Linked DNA regions of Homo sapiens: region 2 is linked to region 1. Evidence: promoter capture Hi-C in 16 types of primary human blood cells and fetal thymus (Javierre and others, 2016). All regions are on one chromosome and are shown on one strand. Each heading gives the region's core, a stretch centred on a gene start or on the middle of the fragment in contact. The rest is flanking DNA. Distances are from core to core; before and after follow the strand shown.

Region 1 (4,230 bases), core at 206-2,705:
TTCACCTGCCCTTTCCAAAATTTCACTTCAAAAGAGTGTTAAAAAAAACTCAGTATATCCAGGTATAAATCTCCAAGTTTAATTTTCACTGCTTAACAAAAGCGATGTAGAAAGCAATTACTGTACCCTCCATTAATCCTTTCGGATTGCATGGAATTCCTTCCAGAAAATTCCAATAGAAAAAAAGTTAAGACAGGTAATCGCGTTTTGGTACGTGTGTCGTCTCTGGCACAAGTCATGTAGAGTGAAATCCTTTAAGACATTTAAATGTTCCTGGTATTGTTTTGTGATTAACGTGATAAAATTGCCAAACAATCCATATTTACCATGAGTGAAAACACTTCCACCACGTACGGAAAATCTCTCCAAAACACAAAATCTGATTCAAAAATTATAAGTAAAAAGAGAATAAATGTAAAAACAATTCCATAAACAAACTTTGAAATGCGTATACGATGACATTACTGAAGCCATTACTCAAAACGAACCTCTGTAAAATCGAGAACGCACAATCAATGCAATAAAATGCTCGAGAAAGCCAAACCCGAGGCGCTGCGCAGTTCCCGCATCGCACAATTCGTTTCAACACATTCCTTGACGAATACACCCAAGGTCACTCACGATGGAGAGGAAAAGTGCCTGTCTCTCTCCAGAGCACGCAACCCGTTCGCCGCGCCCCCACGGAGGGCGGCGAAGAGACGGCGCATCAGGAAAGGGGCTGCGCGGGCGCGAGGACTGGCCGGTGGGCGTTCCGGCGCCGCGAACCGCGGAGCCTGCAACTTACAAGGTCCGCGGCCATCCCCCGGGCCTGGGAGGGGTGGCCCCAGGGCAGGCCCGCGTCCCCGGGGTGACCCGACCCGTCGCGCCGGGGTCCCGCCCCTCCCCCCGCCCCGCCCCCGTCGCCGGCCCGGGATTATGCAACGTTCCCCCTCCCCGCCTGCATTCTGGCGCAGCGCCCCCTCCCCGCGCCCGACTGCGCAGCGCCGCCGCCCCCTGCCCGCCGGCCTCCCCGCCCGGCTCCAAACAAAGCGCGCGCTAAGGGGCCGGCGGCGGCCGGGGAACTGGGGACGAGAGGGTGGCGGCCATGTTGGCGGGGGGCGGCGGGGATGGGGGCACGGAGGAGTAGGGGCCGGCGAACAAAGGAGCGCGCGCCCGCCCCGAGGCCCAGGCCCGCCCAGCCCGGGTCCCCGCCGCGGCCCAGCCGGCAGGGGGCGCTATGCGGGCGCCGCCCGCTGGACAATGCTCCGCCGGGCCCCGCGCGGGCCGCGCTCACCTGCGCCCCCGGGCAGACCGCCGCACCGCTGGCCCGCCCGCAGCCCGCACTCCCTCACGACCCACGCCCGCCCTGCGCGGGCCTCACCTGCTGACCGCCGAGGCTGCAGTCCACAGGCCCACGGGTTCCGCCGTCGCTCGTTCGCGCTCCCGCCGGCCCCAGCCTGAGCCAGACGGCGCCTCCCCGCCCCCGCTCCCTCGCCGCGGACGCCGCCCGCCCCCCAACAGTCAGGGCGCACGCGCACTGCGCCCGCCGAACTGCGACGGCCGCGCCGCCCCGGCGCCTGGCGCCGACGGCCGACTGCGCAGGCGCAGTGGGGCGGGGCGGGGCCGGCGAGGGCGGGGCCTGGCCCCTCTCACCTGGCTGGCGGCAGGGCGGGGCTCGAGCCCGGGACTGCCAGGTGCGCGCCGGGAATGGGCGGCGGCAGGCGCGCGGGGCACAGGTTCCTGAGGGGGCGCAGCTTTTCCTGGAAGGCAGGCAGCCTGAGAAGGGCTTCGTTTTTGCGCAGTAGGACGTTGAAGAAAGGACAAGCCCCCTTTGTCCTGGACGTAAGCCGCAAGTCGTCCTGAGTGGTGCACACCGCGAAGACTGAGGAAACTGGATCACAGGGCTGGGCCGTGAGCCTTGAACCTCGGAGAACGTCGCATTACTGCTCCAGCGCGCCGGTTCAGGGCCGCGGGACGCGAGCCCTTTAAAAGGATGGATTTGCTTCCTGTGACTCCCTGGAAGAGACGTCTTCACCACCGCACTGCGTAGAGGCCGGCGTCGTCGCCGGCTCACCCCGCTTGCTGCCTCCCCGCACAAAGCCCAGCCCAGGTAGCTCAGGTTAGCTGGAGCCCCGGAGCCTCACCTACAAGTACCTGGCCTGTCCTAGGTTGTGTGGGGACGGGATGTGGCTTCTGCAAGCCCAGAAACCTGTTTCCACTCCCCCACCACAAATGGAACTCACCCAGCTCTACTCGCAAGGTTAGGAGCCAAAAATTCCCATGATCGCACGCGAATTCATTTGACTTCCGTTTCAGTTAAGATGCCTTTTCAGCATTTTGTTGCTTGTTTGCAGAAGGGAGAGAGGTAGGATCAAGAATAGTTTTTACTCCTGCAGAGTCGAGTGCGAGACTTGGAGGCTGAGTCCAGGCGCTCTCCCCTCCCCGCCAGTCCCGTGTCCTGGAGCAGGTCACTGACCTGGTTCCTCGAGTGCGACAGCGCAGCCTCATCGTAATAAACCGCCTCCCAAAGCGTTGTCAGATCAAATTCCAGAACATGTTACTGGAAAGCACCTTGAACACTCTAAACTGCAGCACAGTTATTAGTTAGCAATACTCTTTGGGGTTTCACTGGCACCTTTTCTAACAAATAAGATTGATAGATGCCTGCTCAAACAAATTGAAGTGCTTGTCTCAGATGACACACTTGGCAGGCATGGGACGTTCACAGGCCAACTAGAGAGCTAATTTCAAAACTGAGATATAAAAGTGTATCGCTGTACTTACAAGTTACCAAGTGTTGAGAAATTACTCACTTTCATTTGTGTGTTTAATGTCTTTTTTGTTTTTTTAGACGGAGTCTCACTCTGTTCCCCAGGCTGCAGTGCAGTGGCATGATCTCGGCCCACTGCAACCTCCGCTTCCTGGGTTCAAGCAATCCTCACATTTCAGCCTCCCGAGTAGCTGGGATTACAGGCGCGCACCACCATGTCCAGCTAATTTTTAAAAATATTTTTAGTAGAGACGGGGTTTCGCCATGTTGGCCAGGCCGGTCTCAAACTCCTGGCCTCCAGCAATCCGCTGGCCTCGGCCTCCTGAAGTGCTAGGATTACAGGCGTGAGCCACCGCGCCTGGCCTGTTTAATGTCTTGCAGTGGGGTCATCTCCGAAACAAAGAGGGATGGGAAGAAGGTAGGTGCCAAGAAGTCTGCTGGTTGGAAGATTTCATCTCATTGGCGAGATCCCTGGGTTTCTCCACCTCAGCAGTGTTGGCTTTTGGGATGGGATAATCCTTTCATGTGGGGTCTGTTCCATGCTTTGTAGGATGTTTGACAGCATCCCTGGCCTCCACCCACTAGATGCCAGTAGCACACACACTCCTCCAAAATTCACGGAAAACGTCTTCAAAGTCAAATATGTGGCCCCACCTTCATCTCCATCCCCAACCCCTGATTTAAAATTTGCCACTGGTGATGATCTCATTGGGAGCTATTGAGAATACACAGGACTGTGGTTTACACCTGTAATCCCAACACTTTGGGAGGCTGAGGCTGGAGGATGGCTTGAGCCCAGGAGTTTGAGACCAGCCTGGGCAACATAGCAAGACCCCAACTCTAAAATAAATAAAATTTTAAAAAATTTTAAAAAGGCCAAGAACAGTGGCTCTCACCTGTAATCCCAGCACTTTGGGAGGCCGAGGCAAGTGGATCACTTGAGGTCAGGAGTTTGAGACCAGCCTGGCCAACACAGTGAAACCCCATCTCTGCTAAAAATACAAAAATTAGCGAGGCGTGGTGGTGCACGCCTGTAATCCCAGCTGCTCCAGAGACTGAGGCAGGAGAATCGCTTGAACCCAGGAGGCAGGGTTTGCAGTGAGTCGAGACTGTGCCACTGCACTCCAGCCTGGGTGACGGAGTCAAACTCCATCTCAAAAAAAAATACACAGGATTGTGGCTCATGCCTGTAATACCGGCACTTTGGGAGGCCAAGGTGGTAGGATGGCTTGAGCCCAGGAGTTCAGGACCAGCCTGGGCAACATAGCAAGACCCCAACTGTACAATAAATAAATAAAATTTTTTAAAATGAAACAAAGGCCGGCCAGCTGCAATGGCTCACGCCTGTAATCCCAGCACTTTGGGAGGCCGAGGCAGGCAGATCACTTGAGGTCAGGAGTTCTAGACCAGCCTGGCCAACGTGGTGAAACCCCATTTCTACTAAAAATATAAAAATTAGCCAGCCGTGGTGGCAGGCACCA
Region 2 (4,264 bases), core at 942-3,441, 430 kb after region 1:
CTGGAGGGAGGATGGTCAGCAATCTCAAAACAAGAGAACCAATGGCCTCTCATTACTGATGAGGGAGCACAGGGCATAAGGAATTCAGACCAAGGAGAGCTACAGCCTTTAACCCCATTCAGACACTCATTCCATATGTGCATTACTCCTAGCAATAGATACGCCATTTTCCCAAGGTTTCTATCTTCATGAACTCTTGGTTAATGGCTAATGAGCTAACTACTTGGTTGGGACTTTGGCAATATCAGAGCTGGAAAATACAAGGCCAAGATATTCAGGGTAAAAAGATGTAGGGAAAATAATCATTATGAGACAGTATAGGAAAGAGACTTGGTCTTTGTAGACCGAGGCTCATGGGGCTCACATGTCCAGGCATATTCCCTCCCCTACCTTCTTGCCTCCCTTAACAAGCTGACCTAAGTCACATAGCAGAAGGGAAGCCTCTCCTAACTTAGCTGATCAGGCTGAATTCTTAACCACAAATAGAAGAAACTGTTTATTGCCTTAAGTGATGTCTCCCAAGGTTGCTAAAAGCCGGACTCTAGCATTCCTGATAAGAACCTGACCATATTCCAAGTTTACTAAAACAAAACTCTGGCATTCCCTATGAGAATTGGACCAGATCCAGTTGGCTGAAGACAAGATGGACTTCAGCACTGACCTTTCACTGAGTTTTCCTCATAATCTCACTGTAATACGAAAATCTCTGCCCAAATTGGGGCTTATCTACCATTTTCTAATTATGCAATGTATGTTAGGGCATGACACCCCACTGTACAGGCACAAAGAAAACTGCCTAAACAGGCTTCTGACAGAGCAGGAACATCACCATCTTGGACAAGCACCACCATTTTAAAATTCCCCTTGATCAGAAACCACCTAAATCCAAAGGGCATCAGCTAAGGTCAGCATGACCATAAATCACAAATGACATCTCCAACCAGAAACATTCCAACCCCTAAGATAAACCCCTCCCCAACCAGACACATGCCAGCCCCGAGATAACCTCCCCTCCAGCTGGAGACATTCCAAACCCCGCAATAAACTTCTCCTCCACACAGAAACATTCCAAGCCTGTGATAAGCTATCTTGCCCTAAAACACTTAAATACTCTTAGTCTGTAAGAGAGAGTGCTCCTGACTGAAATCGGCCAGAAACCCCTCTCAGGTTCATTCTCCAAAATAAACCTGTCTTTGACTGTTGAGCCACTTTTTGTGTTTCTTTCCTCTTTCTTTAACTCTCACAGCTTCTATGTCATTCCTTTCTCTGCCTCAGCTTCCTTAAAATGACAAGAGCTGAGCCCTTTTTGGCTGTAGCACTGGGGTCCTTTTCCTGGGCACTGCTCCCTTGCTTTGATTGAGCTCAAGCCCATTAAAACTTGCCTGAGAAAAATTACTGTTTGGCCTGGTATTAATTTGTATTTACTCGAGAGCCAAGATGCTGCACTAACACTTACAGTGGCTCCCATTCTGCCTACCTTGATGCACCGTACCTTGGCTCATACCAGACAAGACATGGAAGAGGCATGACACAACACCAAAGCTGATGAACTAACCATAGCATACCAGCAGATAAGCCTCTTGAAGGAGGCAGAGTCCTAGAGCTTTGGGATGAGCTACCCTATCCCATGCAAGGGCATGTAAGAGGAGAGGTCAGGGCATTTGGGCATCATGGGGTTACAAAAATGAATTATTATTTTTTATTTTTCTTTGAGATGGAGTCTTGCAGTGTCACCTAGGCTGAAGTGCAGTGGTGCAATATCGGCTCACTGCAACCTCTGCCTCCTGGGTTGAAGCAATTCTTGTGCCTCAGCCTGCCAAGTAGCTGGGACTACAGGCACGTGCCACCACACCTGGCTAATTTTAGTATTTTTAGTAGAGACGAGGGTTTCACCATGTTGCCCAGGCTGGTCTAGAACTCCTGACCTCAAGTGATCCACCCGCCTCTGCCTCCCAAAGTGCTGGGATTACAGGCGTGAGTCACCATGCCCGGTCAAAAAGGAATTATTAACAGAGGAGTCAACCCAGCAGAGACACATTTATGCAAGGTTATTAGGGACTGTACCATGCTAGAAATTTAGATACTGGGTTCACTGCCTGGGAGGAGAAATTCACAGGAAGGCCATTATCAGAACTGGCAAATCAACTTCAAAGGGCCTCCCCCTACAGTGACAGGAGCCAATGAATATGCTAAGGGATATCTACACAGGCCATCCATTTGCTTACCCATGTGAGGCAGGAACCTCTACTAATGTCACAATGGGTTACCAAAACAGCTTTTACAGCCTTTGGGTGTGCCACAAGTTACACAGTCAGATCAAGGCTCTTCTTGTACCACAAAGCAAATGCAACGATGGGTATTACAAAGTAACATTACAAAGTAACAGCAGTGGGTATCATAGAAAGATATAATGAGCTTTTAAAACGGGGGCTACTGAAACGATGTAGATGACAATGGTGACCTGAGTCATCAAAATGCTGCCTCTAGCCAGGGATGGTGGCTCACGCCTGTAATACTGGCGCTTTGGGAGGCAAGGTGGGTGGATTGCTTGAGCTCATGAGTTCAAGACCTGCCTGGGCAACATGATGAAACCTCGTCTCTAGTAAACATACAAAAATTAGGCATGGTGGCATGAGGTCTAGTTACTCAGGAGGCTTAGGTGGGAGGATGGCTTGAGCCCAGGAGGCAGAGGTTGCACTGAGCTGAGATTGCACCACTGTACTCCAGCCTGGGTGACAGAGCGTGACCCTGTCTCAAAAAACAAAAACAAAAAAAGCCAAGATGGTGTCCCAAGTCCTAATTACATTATATGAACTCTGCACCCCCTAGGGCATAACTACACAATATTTAAATTCACAACCAATGAGGGACTATCAACAAGAAAGGCTGCGACCTCTGCCCGTGACCACACTGGCCACAACGTAATTACAGTTTTCAGGTACACAGAAGCACTGATATGGCTGCACATGGCCAAGAAACCACTCGACACTTTTACCTTCCCCTTCTCCCTCATAGAAAACCCACAGCCTAACCACATCCCCCTTGATCCTGCCGCCCACATACATATAATACATATGTGTGTGTATACACATGTATATATGTATCTATTCATGGTGTGTATGTGTGTGTGTGTGTAAAGGAGAGGCTGGGCCGGGCACAGTGGCTCACGCCTGTAATCCCAGCATTTTGGGAGGCCGAGGTGGGCAGATCATGAGGTCAGGAGATCGAGACCACCCTGGCTAATGCAGTGAAACCCTGTCTCTACTAAAAATACAAAAAAATTAGGCAGGCATGGTGGCACGTGCCTGTAATCTCAGCTACTCGGGATGCTGAGGCAGGAGAATCACTTGAACCCAGGAGGCAGAGGTGCAGTGAGCTGAGATTGCACCACTGCACTCCGGCCTGGGCGACAGAGCAAGACTCCGTCTCAAAAAAAAAAAAAAAAAAATGAGGCCACTAAGATATTTTGTACTTGAATTACAAGTATATTTAAACATGAGGGTGGTAGATACGTCATGGTTAAGTAGGAATATACAAGCCTCTAGTCGCCTTGGTGTGTGCATTCTGATTGTTAGATTTTTTTTCTCTAGGATGCTGCAAACACATTTCAAAGTATAACCATGGAGTTATAGTATCAAAGAACTTAAGATTGAAAGGGCCTGTGGACATTATCTAGTCTGACTCTCATATTATAGCCTCAGAAAAAAATGAATGCCTACGAATGGAAACGGATTTGCCTAGCAATCCTGGAAAGAGCTGGGAACAGAACTTGACCTCTATTACACAGTAATAAAAATATTAATGGAAACAACAGTCATCACAAGAGCTAGTACCATTTTAGGGGTGGCTGCAATATGCCCTATATATATGTTATCTTATTTAATCCTTAAAAACAATATTTTAATATAGGTATTATCCTCATGTTGAATTTAAAAAATGAGTTTTTAAGTCTAGGAACATACAACTAATACATGGGAAAACCTACATTTAAATTGAGTTTTCTTATAGATACAAAATTCCATGTATTTCCCACTATTATTTTCACCTTAATTTTAATATTTATTATTATTTACTCATGCTATTAAAACTGTAGAAAATAATTGAAAATGATATCAATGAGAAGAGAACAGGATTAAGGCAAATATAATATGTATTTCATGATCAGTATCTGAAAGATCTCTAAAATAGCTCAGCTTTATTCTTGCCTCCAGGAGAATCTGTAAGAAAATAACACGTGCACTGCATATTACCACCTCAAGTTGTA

The links. Contacts are between HindIII fragments. The CHiCAGO score rates a contact against its expected background, and 5 or more counts as called.
Region 2: a contact is called between a fragment that was not itself captured here and the fragment with the promoter of SPIN1 in region 1, in 8 of 17 cell types (monocytes, non-activated CD4 T cells, total CD8 T cells and 5 more). The highest score is 8.0, in monocytes.

Annotation. Positions count from the first base shown.
Region 1 is chr9:88,385,669-88,389,898 of GRCh38, reverse strand. SPIN1 (spindlin 1) reads right to left here and starts at 1,455. Exons shown (of 6, transcript NM_006717.3): 1 at 1,361-1,455. It overlaps LOC124902204 (a long non-coding RNA gene), which reads left to right and starts at 700. Exons shown (of 2, transcript XR_007061652.1): 1 at 700-787; 2 at 1,782-4,230. RefSeq lists a silencer at 803-1,702 and an enhancer at 1,780-2,639. The HindIII fragment of the contact is 9,781 bases long and covers 1-4,230 here.
Region 2 is chr9:87,956,752-87,961,015 of GRCh38, reverse strand. LOC122394732 reads right to left here. Exons shown (of 1, transcript NM_001395917.1): 1 at 4,133-4,264. Among named protein-coding and RNA genes, the nearest start is that of CDK20, 16 kb to the left of the region's middle. The HindIII fragment of the contact is 4,743 bases long and covers 1-4,264 here.